Linked DNA regions of Homo sapiens: all the other regions are linked to region 3. Evidence: promoter capture Hi-C in human tissues and cell types (Jung and others, 2019). All regions are on one chromosome and are shown on one strand. Each heading gives the region's core, a stretch centred on a gene start or on the middle of the fragment in contact. The rest is flanking DNA. Distances are from core to core; before and after follow the strand shown. Region 1 has its middle 52 kb from the start of LINC03083. Region 2 overlaps KIZ (kizuna centrosomal protein). Region 3 holds the start of NKX2-2 (NK2 homeobox 2). Region 4 has its middle 32 kb from the start of LINC03083.

Region 1 (2,700 bases), core at 137-2,636, 490 kb before region 3:
AGTTATAAACTCTTTAAATAACCCTGATTTTCAACTATTTTCACAGTCACTCCTCTTGCTAGCAAAAGCCAGGAAATTGGACTCAGCTACACACAACATAGCATTTGCATCAAAATAATACAGCAGGCAACAGCAAGCCACAATCACATCACTCAGAAGGAAGGAATAGAATACAAATTAAAGGAAGAATGTAAATTTTTTGCCATTAAGCTTCAATGACCATTTGAAATGGTGGAAGGCACAAAGGTTCTTGATGAGCGTCATCTAGTTTGATTATTCATACTTGTGTTTCTGCTTGAATTAAAGCAGGAGTGCTAGAGCCCGTTAAGGGAAAATATTTGAATTGATAGTGAACTCTCACCTTGCCGTGCATCCATTTACTTTTCAAATGAATACCAGATAAGTTAGTGCATTTTCTAATCGGCCTGTTTTCCAGTGAGTGCTGTCATTACATACCAATTTCTTTTAGAAGTGCTTGCTAAGAAACATTAACTACTCACAAATAAGGAGCTGTCTGTCACAGACTGAGGTCTTAAGCTCACTGGCTCATTTCTGCCAGGATAGTTGAGGGCTGTAGAGTCCACAGTTGCCTGGCCTGTCTAAGCTTCAGTCTTTTCCCTACTTCCCAAGCCAGTCCTTAAACATAGGCAAGGATTTTGCCACCTGCCATGTTTCCAGAACCAGGTGGCATTTGCTCTAGTAATAGCCCAAACCAGCTTACCATTGAGTAAATATGTTATTGTGTGCAGGTGACCTGGGTCCACCCCCTGCTCTGATCCTAACTGCTGACCCAGACTTCAGATTCAAAGCTGACTGAGGACAGTGTATCATTTATTCCTGAACACCAGCTCCACAACTAGTAGGTACATTGACTCAACATAGAGAAAACGGGAAATGTAAAGTCTGAGGGTTGTGTGTTTGGGAGAGGTGGGGTGGGGGTGTCTCATTTTTAAAATACACGTTCAAGTTTTGGACAAGGGCACATAAGCAGAAACTGCTCCTCCTGATGGGGAAAGCACCAGAACATTGCTACTCCTCAAGAAGAGACTATATATATATATATATATATATATATATATATATATATATATATATATATATATATATATATATTTGCGCTTAATCAGGGAGAAAGAAAAAGAAGGCACTTACTACCTGGGTCTACATTTGGCATCATAAAGAGTTTCTTTGGGTTACCCCTCCTGTTGAATGTTACTGGTTACACATTTGTTAAAATGTGTCCATTTTTTTAATCCAAAAATTTACTTTCAGGAGTAATCATGGGTAAAATATAGGGCATACCTAAGGGAGTGAAGTATCGCTCACCAACCTTGAGTGACCTTGCTTCCACATGATTTTGTTTTGCAAATTCTGGTCTGTTCATTGACAGAACAACAACCACATTGATGTGAGCTCCTCATACATCTTCAGCCAAGGCACACAGAAAAAGGAAATGCCTGACAAACAACCCTTCTGAGTGAAGAATGATGGGATCTAATGCCAGGTGAGAAGAGTCCTTATCTGGTTGGGATCCAAAGGCTACTCTTATTTTTTATTTTTTTAATTAAAAAAATACATTTTGGTAGGCCAAGGCAGGAGGATCACTTGAGCCCGGGAGTTTAAGACCAGCCTGGGCAATATAGTGAGACCCTCTCTCTACAAAAAATTTAAAAAATTAGTCGGGCATTGGTGGTGCACACCTGTAGTCCCAGCTACTTGTGGGGCTTGACGGGGAAGATCACTTGAGTCCAGGAGGTTGAAGCTACAGTGAGCTGTGATTGCACCACTACACTCCAGCCTGGGTACCAGAACGAGATTTTTATCTCAAAAAAATTAATGAAATAAAATATTATAATCTCAAAATTGGTTAATCTCATAACTGAATTAAAAGTCAAATGAAAATATAGGGAAAGCTGACCATTAAAGGAGCTGTTGAATATGTGCCGTGGCCACCTATGATAAGGAAGTAACCCAAGCCCGCCCCCGGTAGTGCCCTCCAGACCTGACTCTGAGATTGTCCATAGGACTCTGTTGATTGGCCAGTGGATATCAACACATATGATGTAAGCAGAGACTTGAAAAGCATTTAGCATTGCCCTCTTGCTGCACTTGGAGATAACCATGTGAACAAGCCCGAGCTATCCTGCTGGAAGATGAGAGACACATGGATAAGAACTAACAACCTGCCCAACCATCAGACTTGCGAATGAGGCCATCTTTGGTCATCCAGTCACAAGACACCCCACAGATGTACATTGGCAAGAGTACAACAGGAGTCAGCCGGGACAACCCAGCCCAGAAGAGCTGCCCAGACAACCTACAGAATCATGAGCTAAATATGACACTCAAGGTGTAGGCAAATATGCACAGAGTCTAAGACTTAGGCCCATTTTCCTAAAAATTCCCTTTTATTATTGAACCACCGAAATAATTTTTTAATATTCTTAAACAACCAAAATTGTGGTAAGCATGTTCAGGTGCAGTGGAGACTGGATAGTGTATTTAGGACTCTCCTGGTGTGCCTCATTACCTACCAATTACACCAGACCATCTGACAAAGCCTGCTCTTAACCATACAGGTAACTGTATTCGAAATGACACTTTTGAATATTTTGAGGACTAAATGAGTGTGTGTCTGTGTGTGTGTGTGTATGTTTGTGTATAGTAAATGCTGTCTGTGCTCTGTCCCCATTCCCTACA
Region 2 (2,700 bases), core at 3-2,502, 370 kb before region 3:
TTATATCTTGAGATATTGTTTTAAATAAAATCATCTTATTAGGAAGATCCCTTTGATTAAACCTTACGTGATTATTTAAAGATTTTTGCTTACAGAATATTGCTTTAATGTCTAATTTAATTAAGTTTGCTGAAAGGGTGTTACTTTGTGAAGAAAGGATAGACTCTAAAGAAAACCTCAGTGTTGTCAGTAGGTAAAATTGTTTTTCTAAATCATGCCTTGTAGCTGCTCTTTTCTTAGTTTGAGAAGTGTTTTAAATGAAAAGTAAACAAAATATGGCATTTTGATTCTTTTATTTGTGCGAATATACATAATTTTGTACATTTTAACCTTTGCACAGAAAACGTGGAAAGAAAAGATTGCATATCTAAGCAATAGACAAAAAGATCGACAAGGAATACTTAAATAAATTCTGCTATGTATCTGCTATAATGCAGGCTTCTAATCCTCCTGCCTATCTCCATATAAATGATTCTGTTCAAGACCGTAGATGTTTTCTTCACTAAAAGCAGTAAAGCTCTTTTAGATGAAATGTCTAAAAACATCTTGTAATAACTTGGAGCATGCTGGCAAGAGTAGTCACTTGTGACTATGTGTGAAACCCCCTCAGCCAGTCGATATTGTAATAAGCAAAAATGGTAGCATCACTCCATTATTCAGAAAAGCCAACAGCGTGCTTGTTCCTTAGGCTGCAGCATTCATTAAGAAAAGCTTACTGGGCTGAAAGCTGGAAACAGATGATAACGGGATATGATTTTCATATTTAATGCTTTCCTTGGAAGAGTGTGTGTGCTACAGATTGATAGAAGAATCAACTGCTACTTTACTAAAAGACTTTCAGGTTTGCCCTATAGCTACCGATGGAATCATTCAGCCAAGAAATTAACTTTTTCTCCTTTTACCTGCTTTATATATCTGCTAAGCAGGCTGCCTGGCTGCCAGTAAATGTTATTATGCAGTTAACTGTTGGGTATTTAAGACTCTTATCAGAAAAGAAACAGAGGCCACACTATTTTGTTTTTATAGTAGGAGGAAGGTTTTAGTTTTTCTTTCTTCCGTGCATTAGCAGGCATTAATCTGAGTTTATAGGAAGTTTTCGTTTTCCTTCCTCATAGATTAAAAAATTAAAAAAAAAACCCTAGAACTTAGAGCATTCTTTAAACTGTAAGATACAAAACACCAAGCCCCAGCAACCTTGACCTATATAAAAAGGCTTTAATGATAAATGACGTATATGCCATTCGATGTAGGCCAAATGTGGTATGATGTGATAGAATTTTAGAGCATTCAGGCAGTTTTTCTATTTGATATTCGGTCATGAAATAATTGATGTGTTTTAATCTAGAAGCCAGTTAGTTCTTTCTATGCCATTCTTGATAGACATATTCTTAGCACGGCAGTGTCAATGGTACTTCAGGAAAACGGAAGCTTTTTTTTTCTTTATTTACCCACTGATTCTTTACCTTGCATGTAGTTGTGGAGTCTCCTTTTAGGACATATTTAAAATTAGGGCAAGAGACATACAGTTGACAACCCCTTAAAATGTTACATATAATAATTAGAAGTCTTTTCATTTATATGGAAAGGTGTCATTTCCTTAAAAGCTTTGACTATTGGCTGTATAAGAATCGATTAGGTAACACTTTGAGAAATTTATATTTTGCATTTTCTAATTTTCCATTGATGTTCAACCAATTAAAAGGTAAATACATTTCAGCAAAATCATGTTTTAGTTAATCCTTATACTAATTCCTGAACCATTCCTTATCATATGAGTTATAGCTTATTGTTTAGTGGAAATCCAAGCTTCTCTTCTTTGGGCAGTCATATGAATTGGTCTTGGTCATTGACCTCCAGGGCCTTTCCTGAAGCATAGTACAGTCACTGGTTGAATCAATAAATAGTTGTTAAGCATCAGTTCTCTTTGAGAAGCAACAGTAGGCCCCTCTATGAAGGCCACAATTTTCTTACCTTCAGAGTGCTTCTCAGAAAGCAATGTTCTTTCTAAGGCACAGAATAGTGTGTGATAAAGTGCCAGTCACGTGGGACAAACATGAGCAATGAGAAGAAAGAAGATTCTGCTTCCTGTGAATTGAGTAATCCCAGCCCTGGTGGAGGAGGTGGTGTGTGAGCTGGCATAGAAGGATGTGCAGGATGCCAGTCAGTGGTAGAAAATGAGCTTGGAAAGCTACCTTGTGGGATTTGGTACCTGGAACTATGGTCCCAGGCTAAGAACTGAGATTTCCTCCTGGAATTTGTGTGTGTGTGTGTGTGTGTGTGTGTGTGTGTGGCAGCAGATGAAGGAAGGACTTGTGAGCAGAGCAGTCACATCCCATGTGTGCAGCTGCGGGAAGATGAGGCTGGCAGTGCTGTGCAGGATGAGCCTGGGGAGGAGTACGTGGAACTGAGGAAATCAGGCTCCATTCAGACAGGAGGAATTAACAGAATGGAGGACCTGTATTGGGGATGGCCATTGAGGTGGAAAACACTAACAAAGGGGAGAGGATCTATCAAATTGGTGATCATTCTGAATTATAAAAAGGTATTTTTTAAGTGGCTATACAGCTTTCAACCATAGGCAGTAACTTGGATGCCAAGAAAAGTCATCAAGTGGTGTGTGTCCATTTTTTAAATATAAAAACTCTGGCTCAGTTTTGGTGTAGGACATCTATTATTTGCTTGCATCCAGTAGTTGCTCTT
Region 3 (2,751 bases), core at 160-2,659:
GTCGGGACCTCCCAGGGTAAAGAGGGAAATCCGTAGGAGTGGGGGCTAGGGGCTCGCCTTTCAAGGGGCTCACATAGTGTGGGTGAGAATTTGGGGGGGGAAGTGGCACTGAAGATCATCGCGGGTTAAGGGCTCCGGCGCCCTTAAGCGGTTTCCTCTCCGGCGAGACGTGGGCAGATTTTTAAAAGAAATACCCCACAATCCCAGCATTGATCGGCTCGGCCATTTAAGGCAGGTTTTTGGGGGCTTTCGTTTCTGCTTTCGGGCCTTCTAGACACCCCCTGCACTGCACAAAGCGTCCTCTATGATCGCGCAGGGGGCAGGGTGAGCTATTTATACCCGGGCCACCCGAAGCCTCCCCACCCTCCACCCGTACCCGGACGAGGCTCGCTGGCTACCTCCAGGGCGCCAGGCCAGTCCCTCCCAGCGGCCGGAGTCCGGGGGCTGCGGCTGGAGCCATCGGTCCGGGTTGACATCATATACCAGCCCCTGGGAGGTATAGCCCTTCTCCCTCTTTCTCCTTAACTTCTCGCATTGAAAAAAATTTTGGAGACCAAGTTCTTTCCCGGAACTAAGGAGGCTTGAAGAGGAGGGCAGAGGACATCCTATACAGGTGTTAAAAATCTTTCTACGGATCCGAGTGAGGGGGTCCGGGCTTACATGGCCCCTTCCCCTTTCACTCCCAGCGTCCAACCCGGGCTGCGGCTGCAGGAATGGAGGGGACCACGGCCTCGGCAGCCAAGTTTTGCTACTTACGGGAGTACTGAAGGCCCTCGGTGCTGGCCAGCCAGCGCGTGTACGGGTTGTCGCTGCTGTCGTAGAAGGGGTTCTTCAGGGGCAGGCTCTGCACCGCGTCCAGGGCGCCCTGCCCCAGCGGCCCGGCCCTCTTGGCTGGCTCGGGCCCCTCGTTCTCTTCCTCCGGACCTTCGGCCACAGAGCCCTCCTCATCGTTGGTGTCCGGCAGGTCTAAGATGTCCTTGACCGAAAACCCCGTCTTTGTGTTGGTCAGCGACATGGTTCGAGACCCCAAAATTTATGTCGCAAAGTTGTAGCTTCACTTGGTCAATTCGTGGCGCTCCCCTGCCCCGGCGGGCGGGGGAGGGGGGAGTTGGGGGGAGGGACTGGGGGAGGGGAGGGGGGAATTGGCTTTAATTATTGGGATAATTATTATTTTTAAAAAGAGAAAGAAACTGGGGATGGGGAGGAAAAAAATGAAGCCCAACCCAGTGCCTCTCTCTGTCTTCTTTGAAAGCACGCGGAAATGGACGCAGGAAGCCGGGCGGCCTGCGCGCCGAGCGCCGCGGGCCCCGGCCTTAGTTTCTAACTCCAGGAGGGGTGCCAAGGCGGCGTCAGCTCGGGCTCCGGCGGCCGCTCGGCGCGCGGTGGCGGCTGGTGGCGAGGAAAAAATGGGCCATTGCCCGAGCGATCAGTCCATATAAGGCTGGGCTCCACTCACGAACCTGGGGAGGCGGGGAGAGGGGGAGAAAGAGAGGGAGGGAGGGAAAGAAAGAGGGAGGGAGGGGGAGCGAGAGAGGGAGCGGGAGAAGGGTGGAAAAAAGGGGGAAGAGACATTAAAAACGCAAAGGTTGGCCACGTGTGGGCGGGTCTTGGGAGTCAAGTGGATGAAGACAGTATTTGCAGATGTGAAATTGTGGGTTTTGGGGAGCTCCGCGCTCCCAGCCAACGGCCCTCTAGAGCAAGATGAGAGGTGTAACGTGTCAATTAATTGCAAAGACGGGGCGAGCCTTTTTTTTTTTAAACCCAGTATTTACATACAAAGGGCCACCGCGTCGCTCGCGAGTCCACACACTTGAAAGGGCCGTTTTAACAAATTGCATCTTAAAAAAGGTGGGGGTGGGGAGGAGGAGGGGAGAAAACAAAACAGAAACCAGGAGGAGGGAAAAAATCCTCTTTAACATTCACCGGTTCCTACCTCCCCGCCCCCGCGCGCCCACCCCCGGCAAGCCGGAAAATTGGCGATTTGTGGCGCCTTTGGAAAAGGGGGAGGGGGCGAAGGCCGAGCTGCGGAAATCTCTCCTTTCCATCGTTGGTGGTTGCCTAAACAAGATCCGGTTCAAATGGCAAGAGCCCAACTTCTGTAAGCCTCCTAGGTCAATATTTTGGTTGAGGCTTAAGGATGAGTGCTAGAAATGACAAGGCAAGTAATTGATTCCAGTTAACCGCGAGAGAGCCCAAAACCCAGGAGAGAGCTCCGCTCCGGGCCGGCCAGAGCCACCACCAAGCGACCCGCCCCCTTCCAGCCGCCCTTTATTTGCTAAAGACTCATTTATTTCCTTCACTCCGCCTCCCCCCACCTCCCACCCCCAACCCCCCGCCTCCACCTCTCTGCGGCCAAGGAGGACGCGCAGTTCACTTTCTGCTTTGCGGGCGGTCCCGGGGAGGGCGGGGTAAGAGTGAGGAGCTCCAACTTCGTCTGGGGTCGGACCCTGGCCCTGCTGCCTCTGGGCTCTGCGGGCCTCTTTCCCCGGGTGGAGGAAAGGGCAGACGGCCCTGCTCTTTCCTGCCCTCTATTATCCCTCCCTCTCCGGCCCCCTCCCTCTCCAGCCTCTGGCTAGAGGTGGAGCAGCGGGAAGGCGGCGGGGCGGGATTGCGGGGGTGGGGGTGGGGGTTGTGTCTCCAGCCTGGGTGAAGACCCAGAAAGCTGCGGGGGAGGGGGGTCGCTGGGTGGCCCGACGATGCCTCGTTTTCTCCCCAGTTTTCTTCTCCCACGCGAGTTCTTTAGTGTGGTCT
Region 4 (2,700 bases), core at 47-2,546, 510 kb before region 3:
TCACACCCTTGTGTAGGCTCTTCCCACAGTGAATCACGGTTGGTTTGTGTAGCCAATAGAATATGGCAGAGGTGATGGTGTGTCACTTCTGCTGACTAGGTTCCAAAAGATAAATTGGCTTCTGACTGTTCTTTTCTGGATTGCTTGATTGGGGGGAAGCCTGCTGCCATGTTAAAGAACTCAGGCAGCCCTATGGAAGGTGAGGAACTGAGGCCACCAGGCAACAGCTGTGTGAGTGAGCTGTTGGAAACAGATTGTCCAGCCCCCACCAAGCCTTCAGGAGACCTCAGCCTCTGCCAACATCTTGACTGCAGTCTCTAGAGAGACCGTAAGCCAGAGCCACCCAGCTCAGCCACTCTCAAATGTTTGGCCCCCAGAAAAGATGTGAGATAATAAATAGTAGGTGTTTTAAGTCAGTAAGTTTGGGAGTAATCTGTTATGCAGCAATAGACAACTAGTGCAGAAAGCATGTTTTCAAAGCATGAGTCTGTATACCTGTGGGTGGTACCAAATGCTGGGGTCCAGGCAGATCCAGACATTAAACCAAGAAGGAAGTCCAGAACTAGGCCAGGGTGAAAATACAGGGCTCAGCACAGATGGCAAAGTCAACAACCAAGCAGCCCATGAGGGGCTGGAAAAATTCCCCATGCTGTTGAGTAGATTCCATGCCCCAAATGGGGACAGAACTGGCTCCAGGTGGTTAAAGGAACCAGAAGTAAATAAAAAACAAAAAAAAAACACTTAGATTTTCATTATAAATCATTAAAATAAAACTTCGCCTAAGGTAACTTCAATTATCTAGAAATTCATTTTTAGAGAACACTATTGGTTGTCCATTCAACAGCTATCCAGCCCTCTTTTCCATGATGGCAGAGCCCACCTGCTACTTAAGAGACTATAATGATGAGCTATTCTCTTTCCCTGCCTCCTTGTAGCTAAGTCATGGCCAGTGGAACCCAAGGGGCAGTCTGCAAACGGGGTTTTTGGAAAGACTTTTCATAAAAAGAGCACCACGTAGGACAAAATGCTCTGTTGTGCCCACCTCTGGATCTTTTATTTGATTTTTAAATTTTTTTGTGGGTAGATAGTAGGTGTATATATTTATGGGTTATGTGGATATATATTTATGGGTTATGTAGATATTTTTATACTTGCAGGTAATGTGTTATAATCACATCAGGGTAAATAGGCTATCCATCGCCTTAAGCATTTATCATTTGTGTTTCAAACAATCCAATTATACTCTTAGTTATTTTTAAATGTACAATTAAATTTGTTTTTACTATAGTCGCCCTGTTGTGCTAGCAAATACCAGGTCTCATATATGCTTTCTAACTATTTTTGGTACCCATTAACCATCCCCACTTCCCCACCTCCCACTCCCCGCCACCCCGCCTTTGGATCTCGAATGAGAATATGCTGTTTGGGTTTGCAGCAGCTGTCTTGCTATCTGAGGAGAAAGTAAAAATGTCCACAGAGGAGCTGACTCAGGGCCCTGACATCTGCGAGCAGCTGAATGAATGGACCCCAGAACAAGCTGCCTCCAGACTTGCTGTCGGAAAGAAAACTCAACATCATTTTAGTGGGATATTCCGTCACTTGCCACCAGATAGATCTGTTGCTGTATAGCAAACAATCCTAAAATTGTCACTTAAAAGAAAAATAAGCGTTTATTTTACTCATGAATCTGGTGGTTGAATGGCTTAGCTGGGTGATACTTGCATGGGTTTCTCATGTGGTTGCAATTAGATGCTGGCTGCGCATAGAGTCATTTTGAAGGTGTTTTTACTCATATGCCTGGCACCTGGGCTGAGAAGGCTCAGCAGCTCAGGGTAGGAAGACCTGGGGGCAGGAAGACCTGGGGTTCCCCAGTCACCTCTCTCTGTCTCTATCCTACCCGTCATCTATCTATCTATCATATATGTCTATCCTATCTGCCATATGTCTATCGTATCTATCCTATCACATATATCTATTCTATCTATCTACCTATCAATCACCTATCAGCTATCTGTCATCCATGTATCCTATCTATCTATTATCCATCTATGTCTATCTATCTAGTGGCCTCAGGGAAATCAGGTGGGACCTCTTACATGGCAGCCAAAGGCCTCCAGAGAGAATGTTTCCAAAGAAAAGACAAGGCGTTTTCTAACCCAGCCTTGGAAGTCACACAGTCTCACTTTCCCCAAATTCTATTCATCATGTAGTTACAAAGGTGGGCCCTTCCTTCAAAGGGAGGGGATATAGACTTCACCTCTTGATAGGAGGAGTTTCAAATAATTTTCGGATGAGTTTTTAAGCCACCACAAGCAACCTAACTGGTACTTTTGGGTCCTACTGTTTATTCCTCCACGTGATGACTTCCCACATTATCCTTACCGGGAGAGCTAGTCTCCTCTTCAGAACCCTTATAAACTTTCCATCCCAGAGAAACTTTTCTAGGGCCCAAGATGGTACCCAACTCTGGGGTGACTCCTTCCCGTTAACAGGATAAGGCTTCTGAGACAGTGACCTGAAGGAATAAGCTGTCCCTTATAAGGCCAAGATGATTCATTGAAAAGGGAGAGTATTTTAATAACTAATGGTTTATACTTGGTGCCACTGCATAGTAGAATTTGTGTTTCTCTTAACCTTTCTTGCTAGCTGGGAAGCTAAGAGTATATTGGATACCAGTTGTAACTCTGTTGTGATTTGGGT

The links. Contacts are between HindIII fragments. The study calls those that stand out against the background at their distance.
Region 1: a fragment that was not itself captured here is called in contact with the fragment with the promoter of NKX2-2 in region 3 in 1 of the 25 tissues and cell types used here (lymphoblastoid cells).
Region 2: a contact is called between a fragment that was not itself captured here and the fragment with the promoter of NKX2-2 in region 3, in 5 of the 25 tissues and cell types used here (H1 embryonic stem cells, aorta, heart right ventricle and 2 more).
Region 4: a contact is called between a fragment that was not itself captured here and the fragment with the promoter of NKX2-2 in region 3, in 2 of the 25 tissues and cell types used here (dorsolateral prefrontal cortex and lymphoblastoid cells).

What each region holds. Positions count from the first base shown.
Region 1 is chr20:21,021,064-21,023,763 of GRCh38, forward strand. No RefSeq gene overlaps it. Among named protein-coding and RNA genes, the nearest start is that of LINC03083, 52 kb to the left of the region's middle. The HindIII fragment of the contact is 5,260 bases long and covers 1-2,700 here.
Region 2 is chr20:21,145,706-21,148,405 of GRCh38, forward strand. The region is part of intron 4 of KIZ (kizuna centrosomal protein); the gene reads left to right. Among named protein-coding and RNA genes, the nearest start is that of KIZ, 21 kb to the left of the region's middle. The HindIII fragment of the contact is 4,353 bases long and covers 1-2,700 here.
Region 3 is chr20:21,512,655-21,515,405 of GRCh38, forward strand. NKX2-2 (NK2 homeobox 2) reads right to left here and starts at 1,410. Exons shown (of 2, transcript NM_002509.4): 1 at 757-1,410. The coding sequence starts at 1,015. The HindIII fragment of the contact is 15,862 bases long and covers 1-2,751 here.
Region 4 is chr20:21,001,200-21,003,899 of GRCh38, forward strand. No RefSeq gene overlaps it. Among named protein-coding and RNA genes, the nearest start is that of LINC03083, 32 kb to the left of the region's middle. The HindIII fragment of the contact is 5,523 bases long and covers 1-2,700 here.